2 separate regions of the Homo sapiens genome follow, and region 2 is linked to region 1. Evidence: promoter capture Hi-C in human tissues and cell types (Jung and others, 2019). All regions are on one chromosome and are shown on one strand. The core of a region is centred on a gene start or on the middle of the fragment in contact, and the rest is flanking DNA. Distances in the headings are between cores, read along the strand shown.

The links. Contacts are between HindIII fragments. The study calls those that stand out against the background at their distance.
Region 2: a contact is called between a fragment that was not itself captured here and the fragment with the promoter of RHOT1 in region 1, in 1 of the 25 tissues and cell types used here (dorsolateral prefrontal cortex).

Annotation. Positions count from the first base shown.
Region 1 is chr17:32,141,221-32,146,889 of GRCh38, forward strand. RHOT1 (ras homolog family member T1) reads left to right here and starts at 1,282. Exons shown (of 20, transcript NM_001033566.3): 1 at 1,282-1,509. The coding sequence starts at 1,473. LOC105371730 (a long non-coding RNA gene) reads right to left here and starts at 1,915. Exons shown (of 2, transcript NR_136413.1): 1 at 1,805-1,915; 2 at 6-1,493. RefSeq lists an enhancer at 613-782 and silencers at 1,243-1,472, 1,503-1,562. The HindIII fragment of the contact is 2,047 bases long and covers 244-2,290 here.
Region 2 is chr17:32,286,734-32,292,543 of GRCh38, forward strand. It overlaps RHBDL3 (rhomboid like 3), which reads left to right. Exons shown (of 9, transcript NM_138328.3): 4 at 2,059-2,283. Among named protein-coding and RNA genes, the nearest start is that of RHBDL3, 24 kb to the left of the region's middle. RefSeq lists an enhancer at 2,603-3,250. The HindIII fragment of the contact is 6,058 bases long and covers 496-5,810 here.

The DNA.
Region 1 (5,669 bases), core at 32-2,531:
GTGGATTACAACTTTTTAGTGACTTTTTAATATAATAATGATAGCTGAGATCAGTAGAGCACACGCTCTGAGTCTGGCACTGTACCAAATGCTTGACAAGTATTATAGTATTTATTACTCACAACCATCTCAAGAGGAAGGTATTATCATCATTATTTCCATGCTACAGAAGAAGGAACAGTGGCTGAGGGAAGTAAAAATAAAAGCACTTAGTCGAGATCACAGAGCTATTATGTGGAGCCTAGATTCAAACCCAGGAAATTTGCCAGCAACTCTTAACTGCTGCAAGAGACCACATGACTTCTCCTAGGAGAAAGGGAAGTTGGTATTACGCACATTTCATTCCCTTTAAGTGTTTATTGTGTAATATTTAAGATAGAAAAAATGTACATTATGCACAGATAGTGCTTCCTCATTAATTTATGTATTTTATATTTCCCACTGTGTGCCAAGTATTAGGGATGTGATATATATTCGCACGCGTATGTATATATATATATTTGCCATTGTGTACCAAACATTAAGCATGTAACAACAAATTCCTCCAGATGGAGAGGGTCACGAGAAAATTAAGGCAATGTTAGAAAAATCATCTAGAGTTTATTATCGAGTGCCACCTCCGTGTCTAGCATTACGCTGGGTAAGCCTGAGTAAAGAAGAGTGTCCGAAAACCCTGCCATAAAATAAACTACATAGACAGAAAAAAAGTCACTTAGTTTGGTTATAAAGAAAGGAGTCTTGTTCACACAGCGTAAAAACGAATCTTATAATCGTATTTTATAAGCATCAGAGGCAAAAGCAACTAGGGTGACGGGCTTTGGGGAGTGGAAAGCGCCGGATCCTGGGAGCCAGTCGCCCTACTCGATCAAGCATTTTCTGACGGCCCTATCCAATAACGTGGGGACGCAGCTGAAAACCATGCAAGCTGATCGCTGCCCTCCCGGAGTTTATGGTCTGGTGAGAAGATCCCTGCTCTGAGTCACTGCCAAGCTCTAGCTATGTGACTTTGAACAGGGAATTTCTGTCCCTATCTATAAAATAAACGGGGTTAAACCAGGGAATCCGCCATTCAAATTCCTGGCCCAAGTGTCTCCGGGGTCGCGGTGCCCAAAGGAGGGTGGGCGAGGCTCCCTGGGCCTGCGCTGCGGCGGCCTGACAGCGGGAGCGCTGTTCCGGCGCAGAGCGCGTTCGCGTTCCGAAAGCGCGTGTCCCTCGCCGCGTGCCGTCGTCCCCGCCGCCGCCGCCGCCGCCGCCGCCGCCGCCGCCGCCGCCGCCGCCGCCACAGCCCGCTGGGCCGGAGGAGGCGGAGCTGGCGCTGTCCCGGCTCTCTTGCGGGGAAGCAACTGAGGGGGCGGCGCGGCGGGCCCCGGCGGCCGAAGAGGCTGGCAGGTGGCGCCGTGGGGTGGGTGCTCCTGGTGAGAGGAGTCCACTCCGTGCGTGCGGGCGGAGGCCGGCCCCCGAGAGCCGCCGACATGAAGAAAGACGTGCGGATCCTGCTGGTGGGAGAACGTGAGTCCGCACCCTCTGGCCGGCCCCTGAGTCCCTGCCCTCCCTGCCCCTGCAGCCCCTGTCGCCCCTGTCGCCCCTGCAGCCCCAACCTTTGCAGCCCCGGCCCTTCTCGCGCCTCACAGCTCCGCTCGCCTTTCTCCGCGTTCCTAGGCCTTCCAGCCCCTTCACTCTTCTCTTTTGGCTGGCCGCCGGCGGCCCTCACCCTGTCACCTCACCTGGGCCCTCCAGAGATCTCCTTTCCCTGTTCCCCAGCCGTCCTCCCAAGCCATGTCCCTATTAGCCCTAACCGCCCGACCTCATCCCTCCGAAGCTTCTCTCCTCCTTTTCCTCTTCGAACCCTGTCCTTCTGGGCCTCACAGTTTCCCAGGCCGCCTCCTTTCAGACCTTCTTGTCTTCTGGAGATTCCCTTATCACTGCCAGGCAGGTGCTGGAATAAGCAGACTGACCAATAGGGATTGCGTGAACCGGCTCCCGGGGAAGCTGGGGGAGGGGTGCAGAACTATTCGACTTGTGGGCAAGGTCAGGTTTCTGCATTTTTTTGGCACTCGCAGTCTTCACTCTCTCTATGTATTGACATTAAGATATGAGTAGTGGAAAGGGCCGGATCCTTTTTAGCAGTACTTGTACTTTGCATTGGACTAACTCCTCGTACTCGAGATATTTCATCAAAAATTTTTACTCAACTTCGAGTTATGCAAGCGCTCAATGAATTAGAATTATCTGGGGAGGGTCCAATTGTTGTTACCCTAAAGCGTAATCTTTGCCCTCTTTTTAAGCATTATTTATTCCATAGTTACTTCGTAGTTAACTTATTAATAACCACAGGCACACAGACATTTGATATCTCCCCCCACCCAGAAATTTCATACATTTCACCTTTTGAAAATATAATAAAGGAGAGTTCCCTCTGTTCACTGACATGAGGACGCAACAGCGGGGACTTCTTGATTTCACTCTGCAAGTTATGTAACTCAGTTGCTAGGACTAAAATAAGAAAGTGGGCCAGGGATAACTGGATTGTTTGTTTTAAAGAGTTAATACATTCGTTAATAGTCTGCCATTGCTGTTTCGAAGCATTCTGTTTTAAACCATTATTTCATTCTTGGTAACCCCTCAGGGTCACCGTGATGGAATCCCAAGGAAGAAAGTTAACACGTTTTTACCCTCTTCTGTAGTGTTCTTTGAGTTCATTGAAATTTCATCCACCTGCTGTTTGGAGAAATCTTCCTTTAGAATTAGAATTTAGGAGTAAGCTTAGCCAGCCATAGTTTACTTTTTGATTTGCAGTTGTAAATTTTTATTTTTATTTATAACTATATCTTAATCTGTATTTTTCATGGACTTCCTTGACAAGGTTCAGGAAGGTGTTATTTAACATATAATTCATGCTTATGCTTTTGGAGCAAGGTAGGGAAAGTGAGTAGACGACTTGCTTAAAAAACTGATCCTTAAATATATGATGAAATAGTTTGTTGTTGTTGTTGTTTTGAGACAGAGTCTCGCTCTGTCACCGAGGCTGGAGTGCAGTGCCTGGGATTACAGGCACTGTGGCTCATGCCTGTAATCCCAGCACTTTGGGAGGCCAAGGCAGGCAGATCACTTGAGGTCAGGAGTTCGAGACGAGCCTGGCCAACATGGTGAAACCCCGTCTCTACTAAAAATACGAAAATTAGCCGGGTGTGGTGGCACACACCTGTAGTCCCAGCTACTCTGGAGGCTGAAGCAGGAGAATCACTTGAACCCTGGAGGAGGAGGTTGCAGTGAGCTGAGACATGCCAGCCTGGGCAGCAGAGCAAGACTCTGTCTGAAAAAAAACCTTTAATAATGCTCCCACACAGCTGGGTGAGGTGGCTTATACCTGTATTCCAAGCACTCTGGGAGGCTGAGGCAGGAGGATCACTTGAGGCCAAGGAGTTTGAGACCAACCTGGGCAATGTAGTGAGATCCTGTCTCTACAAAAAATTTAAATATTAATGGCTGGGCACAGTGGCTCACTCCTGTAATCCCAGCACTTTGGGAGGCTGAGGCAGGAGGATTGCTTGAACGCAGGAGTTTGAGACCAGCCTGGGCAACATAGTGAGACCCCGCCTCAAAAAAAAAAAACCACAACACTATTAGCTAGGCATGGTGGTGTGCACCTGTAGTCCTAGCTACTGGGGAGGCTGAGATGAGAGAATTGCTTGAACCCAGAAAATCGAGGTTGCAGTGAGCCATGATCACACCACTGCACTTCAGCCCAGGTGACAGAGCAAGACTGTCTCTTAAAGAAAAAATTAATTTTTAATGGCTGGGCACAGTAGCTCATGCCTGTAACCCCAACACTTTGGGAGGCCAAAGTGGGCAGATCACCTGAGGTCAGGAGTTTGAGACCAGGAAACTGACCAACATGACGAAACCCAGTCTCTACTAACAATACAATAATTAGTCAGCTGTGGCAGCACGCACCTGTAATCCCAGCTACTCAGGAGGCTAAGGCAGGAGAATGGCTTTCACCCAGGAGATGGAGGTCGCAGTGAGCTGAGATCACACCACTGCATTCCAACCTGGGGGACAGAGTGAGACTCTGTCTCAAAAAATATATATATATATTGATAATAGTAAACAGGATAGTTTTCATTTTAATGGAGTCTTCTTTTTAAATTAAATTGAGATATATTTGTTTTCTACTAGTTAAGTTCCTTAAGAAAATGGAACTGTTATCTTCTTTTAAAATGAATCTGGCAGATCTTTAACTGGTTTGTCTAACTCTGATTATCATGGCAACCTCTGCCAAACTACTTCAAAATTCCACTGGCTTTGGCCTTGACTTTTGCAATATCTCCCTTAACCAGTCTTTCTGCTCCTGCTTTCCTCCATTTTCCGTGGAGCAGGCAGATTCATTTTTATTTTTTTATTTTTAATTTTTTTACCCTGAAGTATAGATTCAAGCTGTCCTGAATATATACAGATTCATATTTAGAAAATATCTCAGATTCTGCTATGCACCTTAAAAATCATCTAATGAGCCAGGTGTGGTGGCTCATGCCTATTATCTCAGCACTTTGGGAGGCCGAGGCAGGTGGATCACTTGAGGTCAGGAGTTCGAGACCAGCCTGGGCAACATGACGAACCCTCATCTCTACAAAAAATACAAAAAATTAGCTGGGTGAAGTGGCGTGCACCTGCAGTTCCAGCTACTTGAGAGGCTGAGGTGGGAGAATCACCTGAGCCCAGGAGTTCGGGGCTGCTGTGGGTCATGACTGCACCCCTGCACTCCAGCCTGGTTGACAGGGTGAGAATCTGTCTCAGAAAATAGATGTATATCATCCAGTGATTTCTACTTTCACTTAGAATAAAGTCCAAACTTTTTAATGCAGTCCTGTAAGGCCCTCCACAATCTAGCCCTTACTTCCCTTTTATGCTACTCTCTCCTTCATTGCTCTCTCTATAAGAAGGCTCTGACCTGGGCATTATCCCCATAACCATGTATATTTGTACATTTTTTGTCCTGTCTCTTGGGCTAGAAAAGAATCATCATGAAGGCAGGGGATTTGTCTTCCTTCTTGCTGTATCCCCAGTGGCTAGAACAGACCTGGCACAAAAGAGGCACTCAGGTATTTCTTAAAAGAATGAATGAGTTCAAGCTAGTTCAGTTTGTTTAGACTTTCCTTGTTTTCCAAACCACTCCTCTTTGTCATAAAAATTTGATCATTTTTCTGTATTATTATTATTATTATTTTTATTTTATTTTTTTTGAGATGGAGTCTCGCTTTGTCGCCCAGGCTGGAGTGCAGTGGCGCGATCTCGGCTCACTGCAAGCTCCACCTCCCAGGTTCAGGCCAGTCTCCTGCCTCAGTCTCCCGAGTAGCTGGGACTACAGGTGCCCACCACCACGCCCGGCTAATTTTTTTTTTTTTTTTTTTGTATTTTTAGTAGAGATGGGGTTTCACCATGTTAGGCAGGATGGTCTCGATCTCCTGACTTCATGATCTGCCTTCCTCGGCCTCCCAAAGTGCTGGGATTACAGGAGTGAGCCACCGCGCCCGGCCTATTATTATTTTTTTGAGACAGGGTCTTGCTCTGTCGCCCAGGCTGGAGTACAGTGGTGCCATCTTGGCTCACTGTAACCTCAGCCTCCCAAGTAGCTGGGATGACAGGCATGCACCACCATGTCTGGCTAA
Region 2 (5,810 bases), core at 2,275-4,774, 150 kb after region 1:
CAGACCGCCACACTGCATTACAGCTGAGCAACCCGGGTAGTCGTGTATGAGTGTGCAGGTTGTATACTGTACAATGGTGCCTAGCTGAGAGATGATGGAGACTGAAATCTGGCCCGGACTTTGCCCACCAAGGCCTGGCATGGGTGCACCCATCCAGAAGAAGAGGCTCCTTTATCTGATTGGCACAACAGCTCTGTATGGGCTAGCATGGACTGTGGAGTCAGGCAGATCTGTATTTGAATCCTGACTCTGTGGTTTACTAAGTATGAGTACCCGGGGAAACTACTCACCCTCTCCAAGCTTCAGTCCCCATATTTGTAATGTCGGAATAATACGGGGTGCCAAATAACTATGATGGCACCCTTTTTTACTGTTTTTACACTTCTGTCTCCACTTGTAAGCTCCATGAGGCCTGGGACCATGGTCATGGACTGTGCCCAGCACAGCACTGGGCATGTGAGGGACGCAGGTGGATGGTGAGTGTGTACCCCTGCTGAGCCAGCTCCCACCACGGGTGCTGTGCACTCCCCTGTGCAGGTGCATCCTCAGGGACTGGGAGAGAGACAGGTGAGAGTGGCCACAAAATAATCTGACATCGTGATCCTGTCTTGGGCTCACAATGTGCACCAGGCGCCTAACCCTGGCCTACATTTACAGAGCTCCTGGGCCATTGAGAAGAACTAGGTCCAAGCTTTGTAGGCATGGAGAGAATGGGGATAGAGAATGGTTGGAAAAGGTTCATCTGGGATGGCCTGCTGGAGGGGGCGAGCTTTAAGCTAGATTTTGACTATGAGACAACAGAGCTCAGGAATGTGAGGTGGGGGGACCCTATAGATGGAAGTTCACACCACCTGGCCTGGTCTGAACCTAGATCCTCCCCAGCCATCTGCCCTCTGACAGGGCCTACAACCCCTGTGCCGTGGTCTGGCCTGGTTTACCTCACCAGCCCACAGGGCTCCTGCCTTCGGGTTTAGCCTGATGTCTACTGCTGGGCCTAGAGTCCCAGGAATACACTGATAATCCCCACACCAGCAAACATAGGGACAGCTGAGGTGTGGGCTTGGGAGAGCCATATCTCTAGGACTTCTCCCCGTAAGAAGGGTCTACAGTTGGCCGTGGAAGGCAGGTGGGAGGTAACGGAGGCCTCGGGAGGCCAGGAGTCAGCAAGGCCACCTCTGGTCTCCGAGTCAGGCTGACCACTGGGTGAGGCTGCCAGAGCTCTACCCAGTATGTGTCAGAGAAGCTTCAGGCCGCTGAGGATAGAGCTGGTCCCCAGGTGGAGCTCTGCAGCCAGTCTTTGGGCTTGCTGGGCATTCCAGGTCCTGTGAAGGCCCTCGGGAGTGGTGACCTTCCCCAGGCACAGCTTGGGTTTTGGCTCTGGGTGCCTCTCTGCAAACCCATCTAACCAAGGGCTGCCTGCCTCTTCCCAAGCTAGCGTGTCTGAGGGTGCTACCTCCTGCTCATCTTTTGATTCTCACTCAGACTTCACCTACTCCAGGAAGCCTTCCTTGACCTCTGACCTCCCTGGGACTGGATTGGGCTCCCTCTTGTGTGCTCCCACAGCAACCATCACTCTGAACTGTGATTGCTGGTTACTAATCTGTCTTGAGCACCACCGTATCCCTCCCTGTGCCTGGTAATGAGCCTGACACTTAGTAGTTGCTCAGTAAATTGTGATGGATGGATGATGAGTGAGTAGATGAAGGAAGGTATAGTGAACACAAATACGGGCTCTGGAGCCTTACTGAGTGTGAACTTGATGGATTCCTAAAGCTCTCGGTGTCTCAGTTTCCTAATCCAATAGAATGGGGATGTTAATAGTCCTTATCTAACGGGAAGACTGGTGATCATCAAATGAGCCAAAAGACGTGAAGGGCTGAGAATAATAACCCCTGACACCTAACAAGACCTTGGTGAATGTTGCTTCTTATTAACAATTATAGGAGAAAGGGAAATGCGGGGTCAGGCCTGGTGCAAGGAACATGCTGGCTGGGAAGTGGGTGGGGAGCTCCGCTGGGCCCCAGCTCTGACCCTCTCCCCACTCCATTTCCTGCACAGATGAGCAACAAGCGTTCCAACAGCTTCCGCCAAGCCATCCTGCAGGGCAACCGCAGGCTAAGCAGCAAGGCCCTGCTGGAGGAGAAGGGGCTGAGCCTCTCGCAGCGACTTATCCGCCATGTGGCCTATGAGACCCTGCCCCGGGAAATTGACCGCAAGTGGTACTATGACAGCTACACCTGCTGCCCCCCACCCTGGTTCATGATCACAGTCACGCTGCTGGAGGCAAGGACAAGGGTGGGGAGGGGGTTGCTCTGCCTTGGGGAGTGGCGGGTATGGGGAGAGGAGCCAAGAGGATGACACACAGATCATGGGGGAAGAGGGACATTTCTTTTCCATTGAAGGGCAATGGTTGAGGATCAAATAATAGTTGTATTGCAAATCAGACTCTGTTGCGGTGCATACCAGTGTTGTAACCGTGGACTGCAAAGAGATATTCCAAAGATTATTACTTCAAACAATACTTACTGCAGCCAAATCCCCGTAGGACCACTACCCCCCACCCACCCCAAAACAACAGCAATAAAAACAATGTCATAAGTTCATTGACTTGGGAGATCTAGCCAGGCTAACTCATTAAAGCCAGTTTATTTAGTTCCTCCCTAGGTGGGTAATGTGGACCAGTCATTTGCTCCTTTTTCCCGCCTGAAAATCAGAAATAACCAGACCTGCCTTCCCTCTCCCAGGACACCTTTATTTAAAGTGAGAGAATGGCTACTGGTGCTTTCTGAACACAAAAGCATCACACAAACACATCTGGGAGGGAGTGTGAACAGGTAAATATGGGCTTAACATTTTTAAAGAACATTCTCCCCTTAGGGAATCCTCTGTGCCTATTGTTATGCTAAATTCTACTGCTTATGCAACAGAATCCAAAGGTACCCCTTGCTGCGTTGGTGCCCATGTGTGATAAAACTCAATTCTTTTGGGTCCTCCACTCAACAACCTGTGCAGCCCACCCCAGCTGCAGCTCCTGAATGGATGCTTGGCTTCACTTTGGGATTTTATGATCTCCGCTGTTTCTCTTCCAAAGCCACGGGCCTAATTACCGCCTCTGCATATGTTCTTGTAAAGTTCCTGCCTAATCAAAAGCTTCGCGGCATCCTTCTTTTCTTCTAAGTCAGAATATCTGGTCTGCAGGCCAGCATTCCCCTGTTTGTTGTTATGGCTTCATCCAAGTACATGTTGAAGTTGCGATTTTTCTGAGATATTCTTGGACTCGTTCTTCAAGCGCTTACTGTGCTGGTCTATTTATTAACTTCTGTTTGAGGCCCAATAATAACGAGATGCCTTGGAAGCAGGATTTGCTACCAGGCCACCCTCATGGTATTAGGTGGACAGAACGGCTCCTCAGAGAGCCCAGGAGAATACAGCTACCAGGGGCCTAAGCCATTCCCAGGCTGAGCCCAGAAGATTTTAACCCAACACGAATTATAGCTTCCTTCTCTAAGTGTGTGCCGGGCAGGGGGCTGGCTCTTTGTGTATAGTTTATCACTTTTAAACCTCCTGGCCACTCTGGAAGTCTAGGTATCGGTACCCATTTCCAGATAAAGAAACTGAGGGCCAGAGAATTCAGTTTGCCCAGGTTGATCAAGAGGAGCAATTTTGTGTCCAGATTGGTTCAGATGAACCTCAGCTATGTAAACCCGAACCACCAATCTAGAAGAAACTGGGAAGTGATCAAATAGCTGAAATAACGATCTCGAAGCCCTGGGGCTACAATGCCCAAGGCTTTTGTCTTCTATACAGTTCTGGTAACCTGGCTTTCGGATTTCATAATGAATAGAAAATAGGAGGGACATGGTGTAAAGCAACAAAGGGGTCCACTACCAGCAAGCAATAAGAAACAGCAGCCGACAGCCTGGCAGTGAAGGAAGTGACAAAAGAAAAGTTTAAAGCAGACCTGAATCTTAAAGAAATAAAAGAATTGGCTGAGTGCAGTGGTTCACACCTGTAATGCCAGCACTTTGGGAGGTCAGGGTGGGAGGATCTCTTGAGCCCAGGAATTCAAGATGAGTCTGGACAAAAAAGTGAGACTGTCTCTACAAAATATCAAAAAATTAGCCAGGCATGGTGGTACATGCCTGTGGTCCTAGCTACGTGGGAGGCTGTGGCAAGAGGATCGCTTCAGCCCAGGAGGTCAAGGCTGTAGTGAGCTGTGTCCATGCCACATCACTCCAGCCTGAGTGACAGAGCGAGACCCTGTCTCAAGAAAAAAAAAAAAAAAAAAGGAAAAGAAATACAAGAATTTGGGGGATTGGCCGGACGTGGTGGCTCACACCTGTAATCCCAGCACTTTCAAAGGCCGAGGTGGGCGGATCACTTGAGGTTAGGAATTTAAGACCAGCCTGGCCAACATGGTGAAACCCTGTCTCTACTAAAAATATAAAAATTAGCCAGGCATGGTGGTGGGTGCCTGTAATCCCAGCTACTGGGGAGGCTGAGGCAGGAGAATTGCTTGAACCCGGGAGGCGGAGGTTGCAGTGAGCCAAGATCGTGCCACTGCACTCCAGCCTGGGCGACAGAGCAAGACTCCGTCTCAAAAAAGAAAAAAAGAAAAAAAAAAAAGAATTTAGGACCTTGAGTGTATGAGCAAAAACACTATCCTGGCCGGGCACAGTGGCTCACGCCTGTAATTCCAGCACCTTGGGAGGCCGAGGCGGGTGGGTCATTGAGGTCAGGATTTCAAGACCAGCCTGGGCAACGTGGTAAAACCCCGTCTCTACTAAAAATACAAAAATTAGTCGTGTATCATGGTGGGTGCCTGTAATCCCAGCTACTCAGGAGGCTGAGACATGAGACTTGCCTGAACTCAGGAGGCAGAGGTTGCAGTGAGCCGAGACTGTGCCACTGCACTCCAGCCTGGGTGACAGAACAAGACTCTTATTTCAAAACAAAAACAAACAAAAAATGTCATCTTCCTGGGGTTGCTGGAGAAACAAATCACTCTTATAGCCCAGATCAATACCTGAGATATTCCTTTTTTTTTTTTTTTTTTTAGACAGAGTCTCCCTCTGTCACCCAGGCTGGAATGCCGTGGCGCAATCTTGGCTCACTGCAACCTCCGCCGGCTGGGTTCAAGCAATTCTCCTGCCTCAGCCTCCTGAGTAGCTGGGGTTACAGGTGCCTGCCACCACGCCCGGCTAATTTTCATATTTTTAGTAGAGACGGGGTTTCACCACATTGGTCAGTCTGGTCTCAAACTCCTGACCTTGTGATCTGCCCGCCTCGGCCTCCCAAAGTGCTGGGATTACAGGCGTGAGCCACTGTGCCCAGCCCATACCTGAGATATTCTTAAACAGTTATGCATATGCCCTGATTAAGAACACAGGGACGTAAATGATACATTTTAGAAGGAGTCCCAGAAAAAAAAAAGAGTTAAATACCCTTTTAGAGATTAAACAAGTATGCTTCAGTCACGTTTGCAAAATCAACTTCTGTGGAATGTTGGTGAGAATGTGGAGAAATTGGAGCCCTTGTGCACTGTTGGTGGGAAAGTAAAATGGTGCAGCTGCTATGGAAAACAGTCTGGCGTTGCCTCAAAAAATTAAACATAGAATTACCATATGATCCAGCAATTCCACTTCTGAATATATCCCAAAAGAATTGAAAGGGACTGGAAGAGATATTGATACACCCATATTCATAATAGCATTATTCACAATAGTCAAAAGGTAGAAGCAACCCAAGTGTCCATCGGTAGATGAATGGAGAAACAAAATGTGGTCTGTGTTTATAGTGGAGGGCTCACG